Regions from separate parts of the Homo sapiens genome. Here regions 2, 3, 4 and 5 are each linked to region 1. The links are contacts of gene promoters, found by promoter capture Hi-C in blood cells and fetal thymus (Javierre and others, 2016). All regions are on one chromosome and are shown on one strand. The core of a region is centred on a gene start or on the middle of the fragment in contact, and the rest is flanking DNA. Distances in the headings are between cores, read along the strand shown.

The links. Contacts are between HindIII fragments. The CHiCAGO score rates a contact against its expected background, and 5 or more counts as called.
Region 2: a fragment that was not itself captured here is called in contact with the fragment with the promoter of DCHS1 in region 1 in 2 of 17 cell types (total CD8 T cells and activated CD4 T cells); the score reaches 6.0 in total CD8 T cells.
Region 3: a contact is called between a fragment that was not itself captured here and the fragment with the promoter of DCHS1 in region 1, in 5 of 17 cell types (non-activated CD4 T cells, activated CD4 T cells, fetal thymus and 2 more). The highest score is 7.1, in non-activated CD4 T cells.
Region 4: the fragment with the promoter of TRIM3 here is called in contact with the fragment with the promoter of DCHS1 in region 1 in 12 of 17 cell types (non-activated CD4 T cells, fetal thymus, naive CD8 T cells and 9 more); the score reaches 10.6 in non-activated CD4 T cells.
Region 5: a fragment that was not itself captured here is called in contact with the fragment with the promoter of DCHS1 in region 1 in 4 of 17 cell types (activated CD4 T cells, total CD8 T cells, naive CD4 T cells and 1 more); the score reaches 8.6 in activated CD4 T cells.

Annotation. Positions count from the first base shown.
Region 1 is chr11:6,654,317-6,657,311 of GRCh38, forward strand. It overlaps DCHS1 (dachsous cadherin-related 1), which reads right to left and starts at 1,493. Exons shown (of 21, transcript NM_003737.4): 1 at 1,247-1,493. The HindIII fragment of the contact is 4,247 bases long and covers 1-2,976 here.
Region 2 is chr11:6,423,482-6,426,476 of GRCh38, forward strand. No RefSeq gene overlaps it. Among named protein-coding and RNA genes, the nearest start is that of APBB1, 5.9 kb to the left of the region's middle. The HindIII fragment of the contact is 6,341 bases long and covers 1-2,995 here.
Region 3 is chr11:6,444,019-6,447,013 of GRCh38, forward strand. No RefSeq gene overlaps it. Among named protein-coding and RNA genes, the nearest start is that of HPX, 4.5 kb to the left of the region's middle. The HindIII fragment of the contact is 2,129 bases long and covers 320-2,448 here.
Region 4 is chr11:6,472,425-6,475,419 of GRCh38, forward strand. It overlaps TRIM3 (tripartite motif containing 3), which reads right to left and starts at 1,517. Exons shown (of 12, transcript NM_033278.4): 1 at 1,367-1,517. RefSeq lists enhancers at 178-1,117, 1,118-2,056 and a silencer at 1,414-1,643. The HindIII fragment of the contact is 3,557 bases long and covers 354-2,995 here.
Region 5 is chr11:6,490,313-6,493,307 of GRCh38, forward strand. No RefSeq gene overlaps it. Among named protein-coding and RNA genes, the nearest start is that of DNHD1, 5.5 kb to the right of the region's middle. The HindIII fragment of the contact is 4,880 bases long and covers 1-2,995 here.

The DNA of each region.
Region 1 (2,995 bases), core at 243-2,742:
GGCAGCTCCAAGGAAGTAAACCTAATAAGATGTGCTGTGACAGTTGTGACAGTGCTTCTGATGGATGTGGATTGCAGTGACAATGTCTCCTGAGAGGTGCTGGTCTACTTGTTTGTTGCTGGTGACAGTGTTTCTGGAGAGTGTTAGCAGTAACAATGTCTTCCATGGTATGTGTTGGCCTTGACAATGAACCGGTGGGAGTATGTTGGTTGCAGCATTTCTCCTGTGGGTGTGTGTTGTCATGAGAGCATTTTCCGTAGGTGTGTGTTGGCTTGATAGAGTCTGCTGTAGGTGTGTGTTGGTTCTGACTGGGGGTGCTTCCTGGGGGTGGGCTTCCTGGAAGTGTATGATGGCTGTGAGGGTATCTCTTGAGGATGTGTGTTCCCTGGGACTGTGTCCTCTTGTGGGTTGAGTAGGGCTATGACTGTGTCCCTATGGGTATTTGAGAAGTTGACATAAGCGACAATATTTTTCTGGCCTATGACCTTGTGGCTGTGGGCCCAGCCCGCCACACTGAGTTCATTGTGCTTCTAGACCTCCCTCTCCCCACCCCCTCCACGTGGGACCCACGCCTGCGGTGACCTTGCTCTGTCCCCTGCACGGGATTCTGAGCTGGGTATCCCAGACACAAACTCCCAGTTGCTCCAATCTCCCACTCAGAACACGTCTGGGTGACCCCCCCCTCCATCCACTTCAGGCTGTGCCTGCCTCTCCTCTGCTTCTCTGTACTTCTCCCCACTCAGTTTCTTTGTCTCTGTCTCAGTTGGTCTCTGTCACACACCCATCCTCCACATTCTGACACATGGGCTCCCACAGAGCGGGCAACACACCCTCACAGGGACTCGCTCACCATGACACACGGTCATTCTGACCCTCACACCCTCAGAGTGACACGCACATGCACACACAGCCAGAGAGACGCCCAGGGACACACAACCTCCCAGTGACACGCACTGACACACTCCGACGATGCACTGGAACACAACGCTGTCGCACCCCACACCCCCGGCGCACGCTCCCGCCGCCACCCTCCCCGACTCGATGACACACGCACACAAAGACCCCCAGGCCCTGCCCCCACGCTCACGTTCACGCCCGCCCGGGTCCCGCAGGCCCAGGCCCCCCCTCCCCCATTGTCTCCGGCTCAGAACAAAGCCCCCGGCTCCGCCGCCGCTGCCGCAGCCCAGGGGAGGCCGGCGGGCAGGGCGGGCGCGGCCAGACGGGCCGGGCGGGCGCGGGCACTGACCTCCGCGCGACGCGGGCTCCCTCGCCCGGTGCTGGGGCGCCGTCCGGCCGCGGTCAGCCCCCCGGGCAGCGCCCGCTCGCGCGGGGCCTGAGGCCGCGCATCGTCCGCAGTCGCTGTCTCCGAGGCCCGCGATCCCCTCCGGGCAGCCGCCGTCGGTCCGCGCGCCCTTGGCCGTCGATCGGTCCGTCCGCTGACGCCCGGGCGCCGCCTCCTGCACAGCCGCCCCGCCGAGGATGCGAGCTCCGCTGCCGCGGCCCCGCGCCCCCTCCCCTCCCCTCCCCCCGCCCTCCGCGCGGTAACCCGAGCCCCCGCCCCTCCGCCCGCGGAGCCCCCGCCCCCGCCCCCACCCGCGCTCCGCGCCGCCGCCCCCCCTTCCCCCCGGCGCCCGCCCGGCCTCCCTCCGCCCCTCCACTTCCCGGCCCCAGGCCCCGGCTCCGGATCCGGCCCCAGCGCCGCGCCGCGCCCCCGTCCCGGTTCCCTTCCCTTCTCCCCGTCACTTCTCCCGTCCTCTCCTCCCATTCGGTTCTCTACGCCCTCTCGTCTCTTCCCCTTCTCGCCGCTCCCTGCTGCTCACCTCCTCCTCTTCCATCTTCTTTCCATCCCCTATTCCCCTCTTCTCCCTCAGTGCCCTGGTCTCCCTCTCGCCCCTTCTTTTTCCCAACCGTCATCTCCATTCCCCTCTGCCTTTCTCCCATCCTCTTCTTCTCGCCCCATCTCCATCATTTTCTCCCCAGCTCTTCTCCCCTTTCTCTTCTCCTTACCCCTTCTGCTTGATCTCTCTCCAGCCTCTTTACATCAGATTCTCCTTCCCCACCTCTCCTTTTATCCTTTTCTTCCTATCCCTTTCTCCCCGTCTCTTCTCCCCACCTTTCTCCCCATCCCCTTCTCCCTGTGTCTTTCGCCTCACCTCATCATCCCCTTTTCCTCACGCCTTCTCCTCATTCCCTTTTCTCACCCCTGCCCTTTTCACTACCCGCTGTCTCTTCCCCTTCTTCCATCGTAACCTCGGCCTTCTCCCCTGTTAGTCACTTTTCATTATCCCATGATTTCTGTCTCTTTTCTCTCCTTCACCCCCAGGCTCCCTTTCCCCCACTTTCTCTTTATCCCAAATTTGAGGGTAGAGATCGGGAGATATTGGAAAGAAGAGCTTTGGGGATGGTGGTCCCACTCACGATATACTCCCTAGAAAAATTAAGTGAGGAGGAAACCGGGCAGGGAAGTGGGAAGGGGCTCAAAAAACCAACTTGGGAGAGAATATGGGGAGAGGGGAAATCAGACAGAGACAAAGAGCAAGCAATCTTAAAGGAACTGGGAAGAGTTCTGACTCCTGTCCTTCTTCCTTAGGACTGCGAGTAGACTGTGAGAAAAACAGGTTTTCTGGACTTGAGATGTGTACAAATGGCACAAAGAAATCAGGAACTTCTGTGGAGAAGGAACACAGTTTCAGCTGAAGAAGAAGGGAGTGTGATTTTGGAAGAGGAGTGAGGGAGAGACTGGGGTCCTTGATCATATCCACGGCGCTTGGGCAGCTGGGTGGATGGATGGTGGTGAGGCTGGCTGTGCTCCACAAAAGGAGCAGCAGGAGGCTGCAGGGGGTTCGTATGAGGAGATGATGACTGTGACTTGGGGCTGCTGACTTTGAAGTGCTGGTTGGGTAGGTAGGTCTGCAACTTAGAGGAGCGGTCTGGGATGGACATAAATATTTGGGAGTCATCTGCAAATGCCGTATAAGCTTGAATATAGGGTGAA
Region 2 (2,995 bases), core at 210-2,709, 230 kb before region 1:
CAAAAACTTTCTCAATCCAATACCCTTCTTCAACAGAACTATTCTTTTGTTTGTTTATTATGAAGAGATGGGGGTCTCACTATGTTGCCCCAGCAGGTCAGGAACTCCTGCACTCAAGCAATCTTCCCACTTTGGTCTCACAAAGTGCTGGGATTACAGGGGTGAGCAACCAAGCCTGGTTCAACAGGACTATTCCAACAACTACCTAGAAGAGTATAGAGTGAGAAGAGAAAAGGACTGAGAACTGAACTCTGGAATGCCAGTGTTTAGGAGCCAGCACAGAAAAAGACAGTCAAGAAGAAAGCTGAGAATTAGCAGAAGGGTAAGAGAAGGATCAGGAGAGAGTAATGTCATGGAAGAAATCCAAGAGAGGAAAGACTTTCAAGGGGGAAGAAGTGGTCAACAACATCAAATGCAGAAAAGATTTCCAATAAGGTCAAGGCAAAAAAAAAAAAAAAAAAAACGTATCCTTTGAATTTGGCAACATGGAGGTTATGGATCCCCATGATTTGATCTGTATTAGCAGAAAATGAAGGCAGAAGCCACAATGCAATGAATTGAGCAAATGGAAAATGAAGAAGTAGAACAAATAAGTGCAGAGCCCCCTTTTGAGAAATTTGGAAGAAAGAATAGACAGTAGCTGCAAAGGTATGTGAGATTCTCCTACGTGAATCCTTGAAACAAAAAAAGATTCAGTTTTTGCAGTATGGAGGTGCCCCAAAAAACTAAAAATAGAGCTACTATGTGATCCAGCAATCCCACTGGTGGGTATATATCCAAAGGAACTGAAATCAGTATGTTGAAGGGATAGCTACATGCTCATGTTTATTGTAGCATTATTTACAATATCCAAGACATGGAATCAACTTAAGTGTCCATCAATGGATGAATGGATAAAAAAAATGTGGTTATAGACACAATGGAATAGTATTTCATCCTTTAAAAGTGGAGATATCCTGTATTTGTGACAACATGGATGAACCTGGAGGACCCTATGTTAAATGAAATAATCTAGACACAGAAAGACAAATGCTACATGATCTCATTTATATGTGGAATCTAATAAAGCTGAGCTCACAGAAGTAGACAGCAGAATGGTGGTTGCCAGAGGCATGGGGGTATGGGAGGGGCAGGGATGGAAGGGAATGGGGAGTTGTTGATCAAAGGGTACAGTGTTCCAGGTAGACAGGAGGAATAAGTTTCGAGATCTATTGAATAGCAAAAAGGCTAAAGTCAATAGCAATGTATTGTATATTTCAAAATAAAGAGAATAAATTTCAAATGTCTCACCATAAAAAATTATAGGTAGGGGAGGTGAGGGATATGTTAATTAGCTTAATTAATCTTTCCACATTGCATACGTATATCAAAACATCACATTGTACCCCATAAACGTATATTGTGATTTCCAATCAAAAACAGTATTAATAATAAAAAAGGAAATTGAAAAATAAAATGAAATTCTCTGGTAAAATGAATCAGGTAAAAGAAAATATTCTGTTTTGCCTTTTTAATAAAAAGATGGTAGAGACTTGAACATTGGGTGTAAACTACTAAAAGATATCAGTAGATATGATGAATTTGAAAAAAAAGAAAAAAGATGAGAGATCAGGAGATCCTGGAGATGATGAGAGAGGGTTGGATCAAAGGCTCACGTAGGAAAATTGGACACCTTACCTTTACAGACTGAAGGGAGAGGGGTGAGGAGAGGGGTGCATGTAGGGCAAAAGGTGGGAGTAGTGCAGAGGTTGAGGTATTTAATACCTAGTGATATCAATTTTTTTTTTTTGAGATGGAGTCTTGCTCTGTTGCCCAGGCTGGAGTGCAGTGGTGCGGTCTTGGCTCACTGCAACCTCTGCCTCCCAGGTTCAAATGATTCTCCTGCCTCAGCCTCCTGAGTAGCTGGGATTAAAGGCACCTGCCATCATGCCTGGCTAATTTTTGTATTTTTAGTGGAGACGGGGTTTCACCATGTTGGCCAGGCTGGTCTCGAACTGCTGAACTCGTGATCTGCCCACCAAAGTGATCTGGCCTCCCAAAGTGCTGGGATTACAGGAATGAGCCACCACACCTGGCCAATATCAATACTTTTAAACTCTTTAGCTGAGGAAGAGAAGGAGGGTTGGATGGGGAACAAGAAAACCTTCACAAGATAAGTATTATCCCATCATGAACATCTGTTGTTGCCATTATTATCTGCCCAGTAACCCTTCCCCCTTTTATTGGTAATAGCACATCTGTTTTCTTTGGAGACCCATCCTCTCCCCACTCTTTGTCCATGTGGTTCAGATGGGAATCATCATAGTCCCACAACCCACTTCAGTGGTACGTTCCTAACCCAGGATTGGCCTATCTAAGTTAAAGTGATCAATTCAGAGGTAGGCACATGACAAAATTTGAGCCAGTGAAAAATCAGATCCAGGAATTTTCCTGGAACTATTGGGCAAGAGGTGCTGATAGAACATAAGCCTGAGGGACAAGGTGCCACAAGGAAGGATGAACCTTCCTAAGAATGACGCTAACTCAAAGAAAGCAAAGCAAGGGATGGAGATAGGTGCCTAACAATATCAAATTAACCTGTAGATTTACCTTTTCCATGAAGTTGAAATCTGCCCATAGATTTTTTTAGCTCTTTAAATCAATAAATTCCCTTTTTGCTTACATCACTGTAAGTTGGAATTTTTTTTTTTTTTCCCCACATCATCTTGCTCCGTCGCCCAGGCTGGAGTACAGTGGTGCGATCTAGGCTCACTGCAAACTCTGCCTCCCAGGTTCAACTGATTCTCCTGCCTCAGTCTCCCAAGTAGCTGGGATTACAGATGCCTGCCACCACACCTGGCTAGTTTTTTGTATTTTTAGTAGAGACAGGTTTCATCGTGTTGGCCAGGCTGGTCTCAAACTCCTGACGTCAAGTGATACACCCGCCTCGGCCTCCCAAAGTGCAGGGATTACAGGCATGAGCCACTGTGCCAGCCTAAGTTGGGTTTTATTACAT
Region 3 (2,995 bases), core at 134-2,633, 210 kb before region 1:
CTATGTCCAGCCTGCTCTGCTGTTGATATGAGTTCTCTGACCTTAGCCATTTCTCCTGGGCCCACTGAGTGCTAGGTGTGCTGGGCCTGAAGTCTGTGGCTGTATACTCCAGGGAGCAGGAACTGAATGTCTCCTTTCCTCAGGGGTAGGAGGCTTAGGGATAAAGCTCCAGGCAGCCAAAGAGCTTGCTGATCCCAGCTGACCCCTCCTCTTGCTCAGTCTATAATGGGCCTTAGTGCTATATATATATATATATAGCATGTATATAGCACTTGCTATGGTTTGAATGTTTCTGTCCCCTCCGAATTGATGTGTTGGAAGCTTAATTCCCAATGTGCCAGTGTTTGGAGGTGCGGCCTCATGAGAGGTGTTTAGGTCATGAGAGCTCTGCCCGATGAATGGATTAATGCTGCTATAAAAAGGGCTTTCAGAAGTGGATTCTCTCTCCTCTGCTTTTCTGCCACGTGATGAACAGCATTTGTCTCCTCTAGAGGATGCAGCGTTCAAAATGCCATCATAGAAGCAGAGACCAGGACCTCACCACACACCAAACCTGCTGGGCACCTTAATCTTGGACTTCCCAGCCTCCAGAACTGTGAGAAATACATTTTTGTTCATTATAAATCATCAGTCATGGGCATTTTGTTATAGCAGCACAAACAGACAAAGGTAGCACTATGAGTCCCGTTTTATGAATGAGGAAGCCAATATTAGGTATCTTAGCCAAATCACATTGCTAGCAAGTGGCAGAGCCATGATTTAAACCCTGGGTGCCTGACTCCTAGGGGTGTGTTCCTACAAGGATAGTGTGTTCTTATCAAGGGGTTCGCTGGCAAATATTTAACAACTGCTCTCTAGGGGGAAAAAGCACTGATTTGTAACATTTGCAGATTTTTGTGATATAAATACTCCTACCATGGCCAACTTTAAGCTACCGACAAGACATCACCAAATGTAGAGTTGGGAAGGGATGTACAGTAACACACTGCATACAATATTCCTACCATACAGATATGATAGATATAAATAATCACAAGAGCACAGGGGATAGTAAAATGTAGTAAAATAATTAGGAAGTGATTACTTTTAAGTACTGATTATCTTTGGTTTTAATAGAATGTATTTAAGTTTATATAGTTTGATTTTTAATAATAGCTGTGTTTTAACAACCAGCTCTCAAAATTCTAAATTTGACAATCAGCTCTCATGAGCCAGCTCCAGCACCCCACAGTCTACCATGCTGCCTTTGTGTACAGGACAAGGATCCTACCTGCTTTAGTCACTGCTATATCTTCAGCACTGAGAACACGCCTGAAATACTGTATGTATTTAATAAATATTGAATCCTATTATTCCTACTTCCTAATTATACATAAAATCTGTCCATTTCTCTCTGCCTCTTTAGTAATGCAAACACCACCTTTTCTTGTGTGACCATTGAAATAGCTCCTCTACAACACATTCTTTATAACAACCACAGTGATCTTTAAAAACGTATCTGAGATCACCTTATGCTCCTGCTTAAAATTTTTTCTTGAAGTCAGTTGTAATTTTTTTTTTTTTTCTTTTTTTTTTGAGACAGAGTCTCACTCTGTCACCCAGGCTGGAGTGCAGTGGCGCGATCTCGGCTCACTGCAACCTCCGTCTCCTGGGTTCAAGTGATTCTCCTGCCTCAGCCTCTCGATTAGCTGGGACTACAGGCGCCTGCCACCACACCTGGCTCATTTTTTGCATTTTTAGTAGAAACAGGGTTTCACCGTGTTAGCCAGGATGGTCTTAATCTCCTGACCTTGTGATCTGTCCACCTTGGCCTCCCAAATGCTGGGATTACAGGCGGGAGCCACTGCACCTGGCCGAAGTCAGTTGTAATTCTAATGTATACACAGTCTTCAAGAGGAACAGTTTAGAGAAGTTGAATTGTTTTCTGATTTTCTTTCTCAATTCTCTTCCTACCCCACAGAATCACTGCCCAGTTTAAAGTTTGTTTCACAGGGCATCCCTTTCATCCTTATCACTTAAACTTTTCAGTGGCTTACTGTCATACTCCAGACCAAATCCAAGCTCTTTATCTTAGTTAAATGATCGAAGTCAGGCCTAATTCTCCAAACTTGTTCCTTTCCTCTCTCCTTCCACCCTCCTTCCTCTCCAGTCACCCTGGCCTCCTTTCAGATTCTCAAACACATCAAGATCTCAACCCCTCAGGATGTTTGTACCTGTTTTTCCTTTGTCTGAAAATCTCTATCTCCTTTTCTTAACACAGCTAGTTCCCTACCCACCCTGCTCCAACCCTACAGGTCACTGCTTAAAGAGACTTTCCTTGTCCACTCTATTTAACACTATATTGTCTATCATTGTATTCTGTTCATTTCCTTCACAGCTTGAACTCAAATTGTTATTACACATTTAGTTCCTTGTTGCTTACTTGTCTCCCTTCTCCACTAGACTATAAGCTTAATAAGGGCAGGGACCATTTCTCTGTATTCCCAGGGCCCATTACTCTGTCTAATATTAAGTGCTCAACAAATACTTGTTCAATAAATAAATGAACCCGCAGACCACAAATGGCCATAGGGCTGTTCTGGTCACCAGACAGCCCTATATGAGCAAAGTGTGAACCCTTGCAGGACCACAAAATAACATTCTGACAGCAGGGGCTTTGCTGTGACCCCCAAATCTGTGACAATCATTCCAGACTTGGCCTCCACTGTCAGGCACTACTTTCATCTACTTGGCCCCAAGGCCTGAATTGGAAAGAAAATGCCCACCACGGCTGGATTTAGAAGGAACAGAATGACTCCACCTTGATGTACCTTTTCCATGGCATGGGAAGACTACCTAATCTGAATCTATGGAAATCAGCCCTAGCAGCCTGTTCTTGGGCTAGCAGAAGAGCCATTTGCAGCATCCCGCCCAAGGAAGGTCACCCTTACTGCCTTTTTATTCCCCTGCTACTTTTAGGTGTTCACAATGTAAACATGTGACAGGTTGAGGGCTG
Region 4 (2,995 bases), core at 267-2,766, 180 kb before region 1:
TCCCCCTGCCCCCTCGCCCCCGTAAATAAATGTTTGCTGAGTTTTAAGTCACCTGTGACACTCTATGAACGCTCTCTATTCTAACCATATGGTTTTTCTGCTTTTCTGAACCTGGGCTATACTATCCCAACGATGGACTCTTTGCTCAAGTTCTCTCGGCAAGAATGCCATTGTCTCCTAAGTGGCTGTGGCAGTACCTGGCACACAGGAAGTACTCAGTATATGTTGGTTACAGGAGAGCTCTGTTTAAATCTCTGCAGTTCCCTTTCATCAGAGAGAGATGCAAAAGTAATGGCAGTAACAAGACAAGTGAATAAAGTCCCAAGAAGAGAGACCTCTGCTTAATATAAGGAAGCTTTTCCACAGCAGAAAGTAGCAAGTGCTCTGTCACTGGAGGCATACAAGCCCAAGGAGGCAGGGCTACTGTCAGGCCTGCAGCTCTGATTCCAATTCTGCAGCAAATCATCCCCTGCTTAGGGGATGAATGGGCACCAGTGAGCTAGACAGACTGGCCAAGGGAGACCTGTGATGTTTTCTGCACCTGCTGTGACCTCCCAGATGTGATCTTCCTGCTAGGGCCAGTCCTGAGTTTCTGTTGTCCACATCAGAGAACCCCCACACCAAGAACAAGCCCAGGGCCTGCCCTCAGTCGAACTGACCTCCCTGGGGTGCAGCCTGCCCCTCCAACCTGCAACCATCTGTCCCTGCAGGTTTGCAGCCCAGGATCTGAAGCCAATTGCAGAAGGGAGGAGGTCAGAACCAGGGAGGGGCCTGGGGTCCTCCAGGCAGGGCTCAGGCTACAGGAGAACCAGAGGGGTCCTTTCCTACAAAAAAACAGCCTCCACATGAGGCTTTCTGTCCACAGAGCAGTGCATGGGGAGGAAAGGGTGTCCTCCATCCTGACTGGTGGGCCTGTGGGTACCAGAGGATGGAAGGGGCGGGGGGTGGGGTAGGGTGGGGGTGGGGGAGCAAGGGGTGGAGGTGTCTGCACCAGGGAGAAAAGAGCCCTTCAGACAAGATGGGCCACAATATTCCAGAGTCCCACTCAGCACGCACCACCACCACCACCCTCGGCCGCAGCGTTCAGCACCCTCCGCCAACACACACAAGCTCCCAAACCCCGCGCTCCCCTAAGGAACCATCACCCATCCACCCGCGCCTCCCCGCCTCAAAACAGGGACCTCACGTGAGCAGCCACAGCCCGAAGAATCCCCCTGCTGCTCTCACGGACATGGACACGCCTCACGTGGGCAGAGAGAGGCACAGCTTTTGAAAATCATCTGTGCCCCCACCCACAGACGCTCCGACCCAGACCCGGGCTGACAGGAATACAAACGCACCCTTGGGGCCCGCCCGTCGCACTCACCGCGTTGGAACAGGATGCGAGGGCAAAGCTCGGACTGCGGCCACTCTGAAGGGCCCGCGGCGCTGCTACTGCTGCCAGCGCCCGTCCGCCCGGCCCTGCCCGCGCCTCCGCCTGTCCCCGCGCCGGCGCCGCCGCCGGACTAGCCGCACAGGCCGGAGGGAGGGGCCGGGGCGGGGCTGCGGACCGGCCGGGGGAGGGGGTGACTCCAGTAGGGAAGACCCACCCACGCCCCGCCCGCCGCCGCGGAGGCCCCGCCCACCCCGCCTGCCCACCCCTACCGCACCCGCACGCCCCCCCGCCAACGCCTCCACCTCCTGCGGACGCTGCCTCCTTGGTGCTGCTAGGGAGCCGGCGGGCCGGCGAGCCGGATCCCGGATCTCGGATCCCGGATCTCCGCCAGCTGCCTCCGGCTCCGGGAAGGGCGGTGTAGTCGGTCTCAGGGATTGAGATGAGACTCCGTCAAGAAAAGGCAGCTGGGGCAGCAGGGATTTCGGACTCTGGGAGCCTGTCTGGGCCGCCTGCCTCCTGGAGGCGCCCTTTCCGGCTTCCTTGGAGTGCTCCTATGGAATATGCTAGTCTATCGGCTGACCAGGAAGACGTAGAAACCGTCTGTACCTCAGCACGATCTCTGGGCGGCAGAAGGGCAGTACCCAGAACTCTGGGAGAAGGAGTTAAGGGGTAGAAAGGTGGGGGATTTGATTAGGCTTTGGGCGCTTCAGGAGCCCCCTCCTGAGGAAATTCTGGTTCAGACCATCCAGCGACTCCCTTCCTCACACCAAAGACACTGGACAATTCTCAGAATCATCGCCTTGTGCAAAAAGCAGCCCCAAGTGGAAAATAATTGTAACAGTTTACAGGGACTGAGTGGTTATTATGTGCCGACACAGAACTAGCCACTTTACATATATTATTTAATAGTCAGTAGGTAGCATCTTTTATTAGCCCAATTTTACAATGGGAAAAAATAGGGATCTTGCTCCCCAGACGTTAGCCCTCATCACTCAGCTAGAAAGTGGCAGAACCTGGAGTTGAGCCCTGTTTTTAGGCCCTACAACCAGCATTTGGAGACTCGGTACCTTTCATGTTGAAAAATCCCCAGTGGCCCATTAAGTGGCAGCTCATATAAGGACCACCTTCCCTGCCCCAAAAATCAAGCTCTAGTCAGATGATTGCAGGCTGATCAAAGCCCAGAAGACTGTCTGGGAGCTGCAGTATCCATGACAAAGGGCAAAGTCATGCCTGTGAGGATCCCTGCACTATGGGAATCTGCTGAGTGGGTCTTCCCCTTCCTCCAGCCTTCCAGAGGTGGGGAAAATCCTGAAAAATTCTGGTTTCCTTGGCCAAAGGGCATACAGGTGATGACACCTAGCCCTGACTAAACCAAAGTGCTGTTAGGGATCTTTCTTGTGACCTCTCCACAAGGTTCAGATTTAGGCTCAACACCTGGGTGCAGCAGGAGCTTTGGGAACCGCCTCAACCTCTTATCCACCTGAGTTCAGCACATAGCACAAGATGCTCCAGTGCTTGTGAAGGAAACCCAGACGGGGATCATGCTTGCAGTTTTGGGCTGGGGCTACTATGCTACCCAAGATGAGGGAACTGGAGTCTAGATGACACTATCTTAAGCCT
Region 5 (2,995 bases), core at 129-2,628, 160 kb before region 1:
TTTAAAAAAGGAGTCCCTGCAGCTCCAGCACGGAGACACAGGGGCTCAACAGAGTGCTTCCTAATAGCTTTTTGTCTTGAGTCTAGACCCCTTTTGATTAGTTAGGAATTAGCTTAGTTACATGTAATAGAGATTCTGTTTTTCCTTTTCTGGGTATGCCCCACATTCATCTATATATTCACATATTCCACAGATATTTGAGTGACTGCTTTTACCAATTTTAGCTTAAGCCCTGCAGATACAGAGCTGAACGAGAACGTTCAATCCGTGTTCTCTTGAAACTTAACGTAGTTACGTGAAGGTTAATATAGGACCAGTAATCACAACTGTGATGAATGTTATAAAGAAGAAATGCATCTTGTAATGGAAACATACAGAAGTGCAAACTTTTTCTGTTTGAGGGATGAAGGAGAGCTTCACTGGAAGTGATTTTGAAGCTGAGACCCAAAGGATGAATTAAAATTAACCAGACAGGCCTGGCATGGTGACTCACACCTATAATCCCAGCGCTTTGGGAGGCCAAGGCGGGAGGATTGCTTGAGCCCAGGAGTTCGAGACCAGCCTGGGGAACATAGTGAGACCCCATATCTACAAAAAAAAAAAAACGAAAACCAAAATATGCTGGGCGTGGTGGCACATGCCTGTAGTCCCAGCTACTTGGGAGGCTGAGGTGTGAGGATTGCTTGATCTCGGGAGATCAAGACTGCAGTGAGCCATGATCACCTCACTGCCCTCCAGCCTGGGTGACAGAGCAAGACCCTGTCTCAAAATAATAAAATAAACCAGACAAAAGATAGGGAGAAGGTCTGTCCTCCTTTCCTTCAAGTCCTTGCTCAGATGTCAGATGTCACCTTTTTATTCAGGCTTACTCTGATTATCGTGTTTAAAATGGTAACCCATGCTCCCTTAGACATTCCTGATTCTCTTTGCTTTGTTTTTTTCCATAACACGTATCACTTCTCACATGCTATGTAGTTTATTCATTTTATTCTTTTTTTTTTTTTTTTGAGATGAAGTCTCGCTCTGTTGCCCAGACTGGAGTGCAGTGGCATGATCTCGGCTCACTACAACCTCCACCTCCCAGGTTCAAGCGATTCTCCTGCCTCAGCCTCCCAAGTAGCTGGGACTACAGGCGCCCACTACCACTGCCGGCTAGTTTTTTGTATTTTTAGTAGAGACGGGGTTTCACTGTGTTAGCCAGGATGGTCTCGATCTCCTGACCTCGTGATCCGCCCGCCTCAGCCTCCCAAAGTGTCATTTTATTCTTTATTATCTGTCCCTCCCACTCGAATGTAAGGTCCATAACTCAGGAATTTCTGTCACTGTTTCTGTTTTGTACACTGATATAACCAAACACTGAAAACAGTGCCTGATGCAGTTGATACTCAATAAATATTTGTTGAGTGAAAGGAGGCAAGAAAGAATAGTCCCAGGGCAAAGGTATAGAACTTGCCTTTAGAGAGAGAAAGAGCATCTCTAATTGGTAACAGTAAGGAGGGAGGAATGGATAAGAGCAGATCTAAATGATTTTAAAATTTAGCATTTGGAGATTGAGAGAATTCCTTTTAAATAGCATGTGATGGTTAGTTTTGTGTGTCAACTTGGCTAGGCTATAGTACCCAGTTATTTAATCAAACCCTAATTTGGGTGTTACTGTGAAGGCATTTTTATAGGTATGGGTAACATGTACACTTAGTTGACTTTAAATAAAGGAGATTACTCTTGATAATGTGGGTCTGTTGAAAGCCTTCAGAGTAAAACTGAGGTTTCTCAGAGAAGAAGAAATTCTGCCTCAAGACTGCAGCATCGGGCCAGGTGCAGTGGTTCACACCTGTAATCCGAATGCTTTGGGAGGCCAAGATGGAAAGATTGCTTGAGTTCAGGAGTTCAAGGTTGCAGTGAGCTATGATCTGTACTCCAGCCTGGGCAACAGAGTGAGGTTTTGTCTCTAAAAAAATAAAAATTTAAAAAAGAGGAAAAAATAAGACTGCATCATTAACTTCTGCATGAGTTTCCATCATGCCAGCCTGCCCTACAGATTTTGGATTTACCAGCTCCCACACATGTGTTAGCCAATTTCTTAAAATATATGTCTTTATATGAATATATATATCTTATTGATTCTGCTTCTCTGGAGAATGCTGATTGATAATACAGCATCTCATTTTTTTTTCAAATAGAAGGTAAAGTCATCATCTGAGAATAAAGCAGAAGGAAATGGAAGATGAGAGAGTACAAGAGGTTTGAAATACTGATTGCCCGGAATGGAAGAGTGAACTGACAAAAGAAACAGAGTTTTAGGCAGTGTTGAGGGTTCAGCAGAGCTTGCTGAACAGAATTCCTTTCTGTCTTTGTCTGAAGAGCTTTGATTGTGTTTTTTTGTTGTTTTTGTTTTTTGAGACAGGGTTTTGCTCTGTTGCCCAGGCTGGAGTGTGGTGGTATGAACACGGCTCACTGCAGCCTTAACCTCGTGGGCTCAAGTGATCCTTCCACCTCAGTCTCCCAAAGTTTTGGGATTACAGGAATGAGCCACCGCACCCACCTTTTTCTTGTTTCAAGGCCTTAAACTTTAAGGACTATTGTGACTCAGGTACCGTTCCTTGCCCTTTTATGAAAGAGTTGTCCATGCTCTTTATTCATGCCCTCACTGAATCCTTTGTCTTGTTCATCGTTATGTCAAAATTAATAACAACTAAACACTTAACAATTATATCAAATGTCTACTACTTACCAGGCTCTATTCTAAAGCATTTTGTGTGCATTAATTCACTTAATCCTCACAATACTATAAGGTAGACATTATTATCTTCATTTTCAAAAAGTGAAACTGAGGTAAAATATCCCATGACTAGTAAGTGATGAAGTTAGGATTTCAATCCAGGCAGTCTGATTCCAGAGCCCATCTTCTTACTCACAAATGAAGATTGTTATACATTTATGTATTTTTTTCCATGAATATTTTCTGATCATGTACTCATGGTGCCTAGTATAGGAG